Regions from separate parts of the Homo sapiens genome. Here regions 2, 3 and 4 are each linked to region 1. The links are contacts of gene promoters, found by promoter capture Hi-C in blood cells and fetal thymus (Javierre and others, 2016). All regions are on one chromosome and are shown on one strand. The core of a region is centred on a gene start or on the middle of the fragment in contact, and the rest is flanking DNA. Distances in the headings are between cores, read along the strand shown. Region 1 holds the start of SAP30L-AS1 (SAP30L and GALNT10 antisense RNA 1). Region 2 holds the start of RBM22 (RNA binding motif protein 22). Region 3 holds the start of CSNK1A1 (casein kinase 1 alpha 1). Region 4 holds the start of TCOF1 (treacle ribosome biogenesis factor 1).

The links. Contacts are between HindIII fragments. The CHiCAGO score rates a contact against its expected background, and 5 or more counts as called.
Region 2: the fragment with the promoter of RBM22 here is called in contact with the fragment with the promoter of SAP30L-AS1 in region 1 in 1 of 17 cell types (neutrophils); the score reaches 7.8 in neutrophils.
Region 3: the fragment with the promoter of CSNK1A1 here is called in contact with the fragment with the promoter of SAP30L-AS1 in region 1 in 1 of 17 cell types (neutrophils); the score reaches 13.4 in neutrophils.
Region 4: the fragment with the promoter of TCOF1 here is called in contact with the fragment with the promoter of SAP30L-AS1 in region 1 in 1 of 17 cell types (activated CD4 T cells); the score reaches 5.2 in activated CD4 T cells.

The regions. Positions count from the first base shown.
Region 1 is chr5:154,444,538-154,447,291 of GRCh38, reverse strand. SAP30L-AS1 (SAP30L and GALNT10 antisense RNA 1) reads left to right here and starts at 1,470. Exons shown (of 3, transcript NR_037897.1): 1 at 1,470-1,554. It overlaps SAP30L (SAP30 like), which reads right to left and starts at 1,295. Exons shown (of 4, transcript NM_024632.6): 1 at 487-1,295. The coding sequence starts at 687. RefSeq lists silencers at 652-761, 892-1,421 and enhancers at 998-1,498, 1,552-1,671. The HindIII fragment of the contact is 8,481 bases long and covers 1-2,754 here.
Region 2 is chr5:150,699,508-150,702,340 of GRCh38, reverse strand. It overlaps RBM22 (RNA binding motif protein 22), which reads left to right and starts at 1,279. Exons shown (of 11, transcript NM_018047.3): 1 at 1,279-1,409; 2 at 1,844-1,897. The coding sequence starts at 1,356. RefSeq lists enhancers at 484-1,260, 1,261-2,037. The HindIII fragment of the contact is 2,219 bases long and covers 1,185-2,833 here.
Region 3 is chr5:149,549,903-149,552,720 of GRCh38, reverse strand. It overlaps CSNK1A1 (casein kinase 1 alpha 1), which reads left to right and starts at 1,282. Exons shown (of 10, transcript NM_001892.6): 1 at 1,282-1,879; 2 at 2,540-2,646. The coding sequence starts at 1,757. It also overlaps a transcript of ARHGEF37 not described here. RefSeq lists enhancers at 705-774, 332-1,125, 825-1,494, 1,525-1,584, 1,715-1,774 and 2 more. The HindIII fragment of the contact is 4,606 bases long and covers 966-2,818 here.
Region 4 is chr5:150,355,980-150,358,991 of GRCh38, reverse strand. TCOF1 (treacle ribosome biogenesis factor 1) reads right to left here and starts at 1,295. Exons shown (of 27, transcript NM_001371623.1): 1 at 1,138-1,295. The coding sequence starts at 1,245. LOC105378226 (a long non-coding RNA gene) reads left to right here and starts at 1,572. Exons shown (of 4, transcript XR_944407.3): 1 at 1,572-2,486. RefSeq lists silencers at 868-1,087, 1,168-1,507 and an enhancer at 2,108-2,277. The HindIII fragment of the contact is 5,465 bases long and covers 1-3,012 here.

The DNA of each region.
Region 1 (2,754 bases), core at 221-2,720:
GCGAAGCAGCTAGCTCGGTGACCCTCTGCTGATACCGAGGATGCGGGAGCCAGGGAAGTAACTGCCACCTTTCTCTGTCTGAAGGAATAACAGGGTTCCTAGAAGGAGAGAGAAGTTGGAAAAGAGCCGGGTATCTTCATCACTCCCCGCTCCGATTCTTGCTCCTTCAAGGGCCAACAAAACTAACCCACCTCTCCCTGCTCTAAAGTCTAAACCAATAAAACAAGTTGGAAACTGCTGTCCAATCTTTCCAGGCAGCAGGAGTCCTGAAGCCCCCGCCCCCATCCTCCCGGATCTGGGTAGAATCACAGTCAGAGCATGTCAGCGCTGGAGCGGCCTTTGAAATGCGGAGTCCAACTCAGTTCTGCAGAGCCGGGGCGGCGAGGCCCACGGCGGGGAGTGCCCGGGGAGTCCCGACTGGAGCCCAGGGCAGCGGACGGAGAGCTGGGGGCGCCGGGGCCCAGACGCGAGCGGGGGCGGACTCACGCTCTTGTCGATGTCCAGCTTGAGTTTCTTCTGCGAGATGCTCTTCTGGACCCTCTTGCTGAAGGAGGCGTTGCCCGCGGGCCGGACGCAGCGCTCGCCGTCCTCGATGAGGCAGCAGCTCTGGCCGTAGCCCGGGGCGGCGGCAGCTGGGGCGGCGGGGGGCCCTTCGCGGCTGTCCTCCTCCGTGCTGAAGCCGTTCATCTCCCCGCCCCGGGCCGGTCCCTCTGGGGGAGGGTCCCCGGTAGGCCACTCCGCGGCCGCGCTTGCCGCGGGGCAGGTCGCTGAGACCCCCGCAGCCGAGGGTCCCAGAGTCCGTCTCCAGCCCGGGCGCTGCCCTGCCCCGCGTCCGAGAGGCCCGGCTCCCTCGGCCCCCGGCCCTCCGCCTCCGGAAGCCCCCTTCCTCCCGGCTCGAGGCCCCGGGGTCGGCTCCCGCGGCTCGCAGGGCCCCGCCGGGGGTCACCCGGAGGAGCCTTCTGCCGGGGGCCCAGAACCGTAACCCTGCAGCGGGGGTGTCCGGGAGGGCGTCCCAGGAAACAGCCGCTCCCCAAGGACTCCGGGCCTGGGTTGCCAGGGGGTTTCGAAGGCCCCTGCCGGCTCCCGCCTTCTTTCGGCAGCGGGGCAAACTCGCTGCCGGGCAGCTCCCCCGGGGTGGCGCGGCCTCCTCGCGCGGGGCCCGGCCTCGAACCCGCGGCACCCGGGCCCCGCGGCTCGTCCGGCCCACTCCACCCCTGCAGCCACTCGGCTGCGCCCCGAGTCCCGCGGCAGCCCCTGGGCCGCCCGGCCGCCGCCCGCCGAACGCTCCGCACCACAACAGTTCGCTCCCCCCGCCCTTCGCGGGACAGCGGAAGTCCCGCCTTCACGCGACCATTGGTCTCATTTGCTCTCTGGGCGGGGCTGCCGCCGCCGCTGGCGCGTCCCATTGGGCGTCGCCGCCGCCAGTCTCCGGCGCCAGGCTACTTCCTGGACTCTGCTGGGATGGGTTCAAAGTAGAGAAAGTGGAAGAGGAAAGAGTTACCCCAGCGAGAACCGGGAACCGGGCTGCAGACTCTCCGGCCCGGGGGAGGGATGGTGAGCAGGGGCCTGGCTGGACCGAGGGCCAGACTCCAGGAACAGAGGAACACATTCGGGGACAGACAGTAGAGACGCGGACGGGGACGCTGAGGGACAGACTTGGAGGAGGGGCATATGAGGGGACCTAAAGAGGATAGAGGTGCTATCAGGAGAGGGGCGGACTAATAAAATGAAAGGGCCAGGGCCAGAGGACTCGCGGATCCGTGGGAGGAAGGGTGGGTGAAATAGGACGGAAAGCCAGTCATGGCGGGAAAGACAGAGGGACAACCCCATACAGATACGTGGAAAGACATGCGGAGGAGGTGATGGGGGGATCTTGCAAGGCAGTCGCAATATTGGGGGTAGCCGATACCTTCCAGAGTGTGGAGAGTGGGACTGGCTTGGACGGCGCGGAAAGAAAAGGAGAGGGGGAAAGGAGACCCCGAGGGGTTTGGGCGACCCCTCCACTGGGAAGAATGGGAAGTCCGAATGAGGTCTGGAGGGTGGACTAGGTGAGCCGCGGGCAAGAGAAAGGGCTTCAGGGGAGATGAAGTGAAGGCTGGGAGTGGGGCCCAGGGGCCAATCTCGGAATCTAGATGGGGAAGGGCTGCGGTGTCTTGGGCTCTCCCTGGAGCTCCAAGCTGTAGTTCTATTGCTTTGAGTCCCCGGGTCTACCGGCGAAGCGACTGCGCCCTGCCAAGACCCTGCGCTTGGTTTCGGCGCCCAGGGCACCACCTCCCCTCCAGGAGGGGCCGTAGGATATGCTCTGGTCCAGCACTTCAGTCATGCCACTCTCCAACTGCGCAGCATGGGGACTGATGAGGTCCGAAAGGCGATGGGACCAGCCCAGGGTCGTGTAATTATGTAGGGCTGGGCAGCGTTTTATGGGCAGGGAAGAGGGGAGGCTGTGTTAGGTGATAGGTAAGCAAGTGTTAGTACTAGAGGGCATAGAAGGAGCTTCGGGTTTGTGTCCTGTTGTAAAAGGGAAAGCTACCAGTTTCCATGTTTAGAAGCAGGTGGCTGGTGATCTTAAGTTTTGCTCAGTGGCCATAAATGCATTTGTAGCATCTGAACTGGTAATTTCACACGTGGGACAGCCATCGTCGGAAATAGGCCTATCAGAGATAATATGAAGTACAGTGATGTTCATTATGGAATTATTTATAATAGGAAAAATAAAATAGAACCTCAGAGTTCCAAAAGGGAAGTGGTTAAGTA
Region 2 (2,833 bases), core at 30-2,529, 3.7 Mb after region 1:
TGTATGATATATCCATACAATGGAATTCTACTCAGTAATACAAAGGAAGAAATTATTGATACATGTAATAATATGGATGAATCTCAACTACAAAATACTAAGTGAAAAAATATCAGATCCAAAAGGATATATAGGATTCCACTTATGTGACATTCTGGAAAAGGCAAAACTAGGGACAGAACACAAATTAGTGATTGCCATGGTTTGAGTATGGGATAAGTGGACTAACTACAGAAACAAGGGAACTTTGGGGATGACAGACAATTCCATATTTGACTGTAAGTGAATGTATGTACAAAATTCAAAACTAAAAAGGATAAAACTTTATGTAAATTATACTTTAAATCAACTTTTTTTTTTAATGAGGTGATTTAAATAAATGTGTTAGGTAGCTTGATGACACGGTAAGTATGAAAGTGGTACCAGAATGGCTTGAAACTCATAAAATATTGGCAGAGTGGTTATGAGTTATTCCAAAAATCAAATAATGCATATGTTGATTCGTAAGACCCTTGTCATTTCAGAAGCTGGAAATGAAACAGTACTAATGAATTTGTGGCTTCACCACTTTTTAGCTCCACAACCAGGAGCTATATCAGGAGAGATTAGGTTAATCTCTCTAAACCTGTTTTCTTTTCTATAAAAGAGGGATCATCATACTTGCCTACAGGGTAGAGTTACCAGATAAAATACAGGACGATTGGTTAAGTGATGTGAATTTCAGGTCAACCACGAATCCTACTTTAGGACGAGTAGGTACCATATATATTTATAATTAAAAAGCGATTCGCCGTTAATCTGAAATTCAACTTTAGACGTTCTGTAATTCGTGCGTGTGTGTGTGTGCATGTGTGTGTGTGAGTGACAGAGAGAGAGAGAGAGAGAGAGAGAGAGAGAGAGAGACAGAATCAGAATCTGGCAGCCCTACAGAGAGCCCTACAGAGAGGTTATGCGAATAAATAAGACACTGGAACCGCAAGACGTTCGCCCAGAGTTTGGCATAATAAGCGCCTCAGTGGTAGCGAACGCTATTTTAACCCCAGCCTCTGATGCATTACGTCTTCCTTTATTCTTTCGCCCAATTGTTAAATGAATCAACTGTACGTGTGGCCCTTCATTCCAAGCAGGCAAAAACTCGAAGGAAGCATCCAGGTGCATTATACCAGGACCCCAATTGTTAAGCTTAGAAATTCCAAGAGCGGGCGACGTCATGACGCAAAGGCCCCGCCCCGGAAGAAGCCCTAGACGCGTAAATAAGACGCCGACCGGCGCGGCGCTAGCCTCGGGGCTTGACGGGATTGTGGCGGTCCTCTCTCCCAATTCGGAAGCTACAGCTACCTCCGGACGCTCTCAAGATGGCGACCTCTCTGGGTTCCAACACCTACAACAGGCAGAACTGGGAGGATGCGGTGAGTGTGCCTGCCGGAGGAGGATGGAAGGAGGAGGCGAAGCCGCGCACCTTGCAAGCTGGCAGGACAGGGCCTGCGGCGCGGCCGAAGGAATACCGGGGAGGAGCCAGCGCGGCGGCCTAGCTTGGCCGGAGCAGGAGGGCGGAGGGCGATCCTCCTGCGGGCTTGAAGGGAGGGGGCTTAGCCAGGGTCCCGGGACCAGCACCCTTTCCATCCCTGCCCCCTCCAGCCTATTAGAGCTGGTTTTCTTTTCTCCCGCCGCCTGCCGGAAGTGCAGACAGCGCCCCCTCCCGCGATCGGGTCGTGATGGACTTCGGGTTCCTGCCGTGCCTAGTTCCCCACCCTCGCTTCCCGCCCCCTCGCCACCCCAAGTGTCACTGAGGTGTCAGGGTCTTCGGAGGGTGGTCCTCAACCAGATTTCCCATTTTCACCAGGACTTCCCCATTCTGTGCCAGACATGTCTTGGAGAAAACCCATATATCCGAATGGTGAGTGATCGCGTGTGAAACGAGTTATTCATGTCCTGTCGATGTTGTGGTACTTGCACACTGTGAAGTGTTTCTCTTAGACAAGCAGAAAAAATGATGCTCTTTTACTAACGCGAAGTGCTGGACGACTTGCAAAGAACTGTCATGTGTATTCTCTTACGAATCCGGTAACACTCCTGTAATGTAGGGGTAATAACGATAGCTAGTATTTGTTGAGCATTTACCTAGGAAATAGGTCTGTTGACCAGAAGGTGAGAGCGTTTGTGTCTTTTCATACAATAGTAAGGAATGGAGCTGGGATTTAAGTTCACATATTCTGGCTCTAGGAATGTCAGCATGATAGGAGGAGAACCAGAACTAGAAACTAGGTTTCCTGAATCCTGGTCAAATGCCTTTTGGCCAGTGTACTTTATCTCTTTAAAGTAAGCATTCCCCCTTTGTTACAAACTAGGGTAAAATTAGAACCAGTTAACAATAATAAGGTTAGGGCTGTATTATTGTGTAGTCGTAGAGGTGTTGATATGTTAGTATGTTCACGATGTTTGAATGGTTCAAGATGTTTGAATAGTTCTGTTTAAACAGAACATTTACTATATTCCGGGCATTGGCACAGGACAAGTCTACAGTAGCTACCTTTTGACTAAACTTTGTAAAGTGGGCGGGCCACAGCTGTATCCTCTCTGATTTAGGGATTGTGGAAAGCATTAGGAATGTTAGTTCTTGGGAGTGAACTTGGGAGCCAAAAATGAACCTAAGAGTTGTGGCTGTGGAAAGACACTCACTTACCTAGCATTAGATGCATATACTCTATTTCTTTTTTCTGTAGAGACAGCATCTCGCTATGTTGCCCAGGCTAGTCTGGAACTCCTGGGCTCAAGCAATCCTTCCACCTTGGCCTCTCAAAGTGTTGGGATTACAGGCGTGAGCCACTGCCAC
Region 3 (2,818 bases), core at 33-2,532, 4.9 Mb after region 1:
GGTTACAAGTGTGCGCCATCACACCCGGCTAATTTTTGTATTTTTAGTAGATACGGGGTTTCATCATGTTGGCCAGGCTGGTCTCGAACAACTGACCTCAAGTGATCTGCCCGCCCCGGCCTCCCGAAGTGCTGGGATTACAGGCGTGAGCCACTGCGCCCGCCCCCCATTTCTATTTTAATTAAATTTTATTTAGGATAGGCTTAGCTTAAATTTTTACGACTGAGGTCTGACTTAAGATGATAGCATCAACCATGGAGTTTTCTTTCGTGAACATTATTATTACTAAGCCCAATTTTCCCAGGTCAAATTTTGTAAAACAAAACGTGGTCAAAATTTGATTCTCTGATCGATTTTTTGTAAAAAAGAAAAAAATTACCGTGTAGTTTTAAATGTTGTCAATTAAATTTTGTAATAGTTACCTCTACTCTGTTCAGGTTAATACTGAGGTTTTCAACAAGACCAACATACGATTCTTTTTTTTTTTTTTTTTTTTTTTTTTGGTGGGGTTGAGGGGACATAACAGTTTTTTCACTCTTGTTAAATTAATTTTCTGTTGATTCCATCTATCCTTAATCTTCATTATGAGCAACATACCAGGTTTTCTTCTGAAGATCATATGTGGTAGTGAGGCAATAATGCAAAGACATAGGATGGCAGGGGGATTCCGGCTTCTTTCTTTCTTCCCCTCCTGTGGAAAGAGGGTCTATAACACTCCGTAGTAGATAGGACAATTCTAATTATGAAGGGTAATTAGCTAGGCTCTGCTACAACCGAGAGCCCTGAGAGATTCCTCGACGCTGGCTGCTTTTCTCTTCCTCTCCACCAGAGGCGACAGCCTCTTTCCAAACAGAAACTGGGTTGGAATAGGCCGGTCCGGGGGAACGGCCAGAAGAAAGATCAAAGGTTAAAAACCGCCTCAAAGAGCACAGGTCAATACCCAACTCCTAAGGAGGCCTTAAGCTTTCATCTGCCACGAAACATGAAGGTGACTCCTCCCAATATCAAGGCCGGGGGGCCACTCAGCCTTCCAGAGACCCGGCGGGTCCGAGGCGAGTAACAGGTAACACCTGCTGAGCCGCCGCCGACCGGAAGTGGAAGAGAGCCCGGGACGGGGGTGAGGACAGGCCGCGGCACGCCTGCGCAGTCAGCAGGAGTTGCAGCGCTCATGCGCAGCTGGGCGGTGACAGGGTGACGCTCGGAGCGTGGGCCGCGACTCTCACGGATCCGGTTCCGCCCTCTCGCTGCCGATCCTTCGGAGCGAGCGCCCGAGATCCCTTTCCCAGAGTGCTCTGCGCCGTGAAGAAGCGGCTCCCGGGGACTGGGGGCATTTTGTGTTGGCTGGAGCTGGAGTAACAAGATGGCGTCGTCCGCGGAGTGACAGGGGTCCCTCTGGGCCGGAGCCGGCGGCAGTGGTGGCAGCGGTATCGCCGCCCTAGCTCACCGCGCCCCTTTTCCAGCCCGCGACGTCGCCGCGCAAGCGAGGCAGCGGCGGCCGCCGAGAAACAAGTGGCCCAGCCTGGTAACCGCCGAGAAGCCCTTCACAAACTGCGGCCTGGCAAAAAGAAACCTGACTGAGCGGCGGTGATCAGGTTCCCCTCTGCTGATTCTGGGCCCCGAACCCCGGTAAAGGCCTCCGTGTTCCGTTTCCTGCCGCCCTCCTCCGTAGCCTTGCCTAGTGTAGGAGCCCCGAGGCCTCCGTCCTCTTCCCAGAGGTGTCGGGGCTTGGCCCCAGCCTCCATCTTCGTCTCTCAGGATGGCGAGTAGCAGCGGCTCCAAGGCTGAATTCATTGTCGGAGGGAAATATAAACTGGTACGGAAGATCGGGTCTGGCTCCTTCGGGGACATCTATTTGGCGATCAACATCACCAACGGCGAGGTAATCATCTGGGGTGGGGTTCACGATAACGCTGCGCTTTTACTCATTCCCCCCACCACCACCGTGCACCCCCAAAGTGCTCGGGCCTCTCCTCATCGCACGCACTCGCCAGGGAGTCCAGGGAGCTAGTTTTCCTGGCTTACGAACCTCGTCCGCTGTCTCCCTAAAAGGGTCAAGAACCCGATAGAAAGGTTGGGGGAACTAGTTTCCCACCTTGTTAAACACGTCCCATAAATGTCCCTTAGTCGAGCTTTTTTTTTTTTTAACCGTCTTTTAAGGTGGAAACGGCAAAATCCTCTTTCAGTGATTCCCATGTTTTTTTTTTTTTAATTCTTAATTCTACTGGGCCTCTTGTTCCAATTAGAACAGTTTCCGATCGCCTAGTTCCTTAAAAACCTCTCACTACGTTCAGAGGTTGCCTCTTTTTTCTGGATGAATCATTTTCCTGCACTTTAGAGGACGTACGGATTTCGTCACTACCCCCTGAAGAGGCCTTTGAGGCTGGTTGCCTCGTTTTATAATTACCGAGAGCTTTCTCTTTCCAGCTTTTCACTTCTTCTTGTAGTCGCGACTTGGAGTTTTGCTAATGTCTCCCTCCTTTCCTAAGTGACATTGAATCCGTAGGGATGTTGATGCCATCATCCCCTCTTTCCCCTGCAGGAAGTGGCAGTGAAGCTAGAATCTCAGAAGGCCAGGCATCCCCAGTTGCTGTACGAGAGCAAGCTCTATAAGATTCTTCAAGGTGGGGTTGGCATCCCCCACATACGGTAAGAACCCGGTGCATATAGGCGATCCGCTGAGGGAAGCACGGAATGGGGAAGTGGGTAGAGGCAGGTAATGAGACCAGCTGAATCCGGGTCTTGGTGTTTTAGTTACCTGGGTTCCCTATAGCTGGTGGTTTCCTGTAAGTCAGTCATCTCAATTACTGAGTAAATTTCA
Region 4 (3,012 bases), core at 46-2,545, 4.1 Mb after region 1:
TGATCATGGCTCATACTGTATCCTCAAATTCCTGGGCTCAAGAGAGTGGACTTTCTCCAGGCCAGTGTGTACACAAGTTCCCTCCCACCACAAGGCATTTACACCTCAGCTATTCCTGACCAGGGCAATCTGCCATCCATCTCTCTTTTTTTTTTGAGGCAGAGTCTCGCTTTATCGCCCAGGCTGGAGTGCAGTGGCACGATCTTGACTCATTGCAACCTCTGCCTCCCGGGTTCAAGCAATTCTTGTGCCTCAGCCACATGAGTAGCCAGGATTACAGGCGTGCGCCAACATGCCCAGCTAATTTTTGTATTTTTAGTAGAAACGGTGTTTCACCATGTTGGCCAGGCTGGTCTCGAACTTCTGACCTCAGGTGATCCGCTAGTCTCGGCCTCCCTAAGTGCTGGGATTACAGGCGTGAGCTACCGTGCCCGGCCCATCCCTCTCATTCTTAACACTTATTGCGGTGCTAAGCATATAGTCACTTTTGTGATTCTTTGATTTGTCTACCTTACTAGAGTGTAAGCTCCAGGAGGGCTGAGAGATGGTGCTCACCATTCGAACACCAGGAAGCACCCTGAGTACCGGATTAACAGTTGAATTAATCAAGTAAGAAATGACTGTACCACGAGTTCGAGTACCAAAGCTGACCGTCTCAGTACAGACAATCGCTAAAGGCCTGAGTTCCAGCTCAACTAAGAGGCTGTAGGGTCCCTTTTCCAGGCGCTCCCCCGAGGGGCTGGTCGCAATCCACCCCCGAGACTCGCAGCAACCTCCTTGCCCCAGGGGGGGCCGCGCAGAGCCTAGCCACGTGGCGGGAGACTTAGGAAACTTAAAATACCCGCTACCAGGAAGGGCGTGGAGGTAAGGGAAGCGGGAATTACAAAGTTCGGCCCCTGCGAGCACACTTTCTGGCCCAACCCACTGCCCGGATGAGGAAAGTGAGGCCCAGGGGAACTGAAGTCGCAGTGGGAAGGCAGAGATTGCGGCTCCTCCGGTACCCCTGGCCGCGCCGTCGAGCACTGCGGGACCCGGCTCCGGGCGCCTGCCGGGTCGCCTGGGGACGGGGCGCGGGCCGCGGGCCGCTGATCTCCACATCTTGCACGCGGCCCTCGCACACGGCCCACGAACGCTTACCTGGCCGCTCTGCTCCTTCACTTCCCGCGCCGCACGCACATAGCCAGCCCGCAGCAGATGGTGGTAGATCAGGGGAAGTAGCTCCCGCCGCTTCCTGGCCTCGGCCATACCCGCGACCCCCGGCCGGCCGGCTACCTGCACGCCCCGCCTTAGTCCCCGCCCGCCACTTCCCTCGCGCCCTTAGACCTCGCGCGCCACACTTCCGGCTCCTCTTTCGCTCCGGCCGCGCGGCGCGCCGGGAAACGTAGTCCCCTCTCCGGGAGTGGCCGGCCCCGCCCCTCAAGGCGAAGGGGGCGGAGACTCGTGATCAACAATACCGCCCATTGGCGCGGAGCATGCGGGGCTAGACAGGGACCCGCCCCCGGGGCCGGCCGGGACTTGGACGACTCTCTTTTAATCCTTCCGGCTGGCTTCTTGAAGAGATTTATCTTCCTTGTTAATTCTCTGATGGCTGGGTCTGCGTTTTACTCATCTCTGAACTCCCTAATCTGGATCTTTCTCTAGATCCGAACTTTGTACTGCCATTACCTGCTCATTTATCCATTTCGCACGGTTTTTGGTGCCCATGAACCAGACACGAATTGCCAGTTTATTCATTGATTCATTCGCTAACTGAACAAATCTGTAATAAGCACCTAACTTGGGCTAGCACCCGGCTAGGCTAGGGGGATTCAAAAGATGCATAATACATGGCAGTTGCCCTCAAAGCTCACAGAGACGACTGTCCGTAACCAAGCAACTATAGTTCAATATCTTGTGTGCCTTGTCAGGGACAGATGCAGCCTATGGGCGCCCCAAGGAGGAGCACCGAACCCCAGAGAGATATCTAAGCTGAGGCATAAAGACACCCGAAATTGCTGGGTGCAAAGGAGAGGACTGGCAGAGGGCACTGCATGAGTCTAGGCATGAGAAAACACCCTGCTATTGCCTGGGAACCCTAAACCCAGAACCCCTAGTCTGCGCTGCTGGGCTGTCCAGGTGGGGTGGGGTGAGGTGGGGAAGAGGGAACAAATGAGGGCACATGAGGATGAAGAAGTAGACAAGGCCTACAACTCCCCCACCCCCAACAGAGTTTGGACTTTGCTCTGAGGGCATTAGATAGTCTCTGACTGGCTTTTCCGAGGAGGTTGACCCTGTTTTGTGTTTTTAAAAGATTGCTAAAACCAAAGCACATACCATTAATACTAAATGTGAGGCTGTTGTAGTTGTTGAGGGAAGGATGGCAGGGAAAAGGTGAGGTAGGCTGGAGAATGTTAGAGTGAGCTGTTCTTAACTTCACCGACCCATTGAGAATCTGAGGGCAGCATGTTTCTTACGGGCGCAGGAGTCCCTAACCCTAGGAGGTCCAGGTATGTGGTTATCTTTGTCTTGAACTTGAATGGAAAATGTTATGTGTCTGTACACATTCAACATTTCCCATTTTCTTGAGCAAATATTTATTGAGTACCTACCATTGGGGATGGAATAGTCTCTACTCCTATAGAGCTTACAGTCTAGTGATGGAATTGTCTCTACTCCAATAGAGCTTACAGTCTAACGGAGGAGACACATACTAAACTAATAGTCATACAATACAGTGTTACAAACAGCGGGTAAGTGCAGGAAGGAAAAGGATAGTGTTTTCTTATGTAATAATATAGTGTTTAAAAGCTGCACTGGAGTCACACTGCCTGGGTTCAAATTCTGGCTTTGCCTCATTAACTAGGTGACTTTGGGCAAGTCACTGTGACTCAGTTTCTTTATCTGTACAATGGAGATAATTATAATTTCTACCTCACTGGGTTGTCATAAGGAGTAAATGAATTCTCAGCAGAAATGCTTAGAGGAGCTCTGAACAATAGCGCTCTCTGTGTGCGTGTGTGCTATTATTGTGAA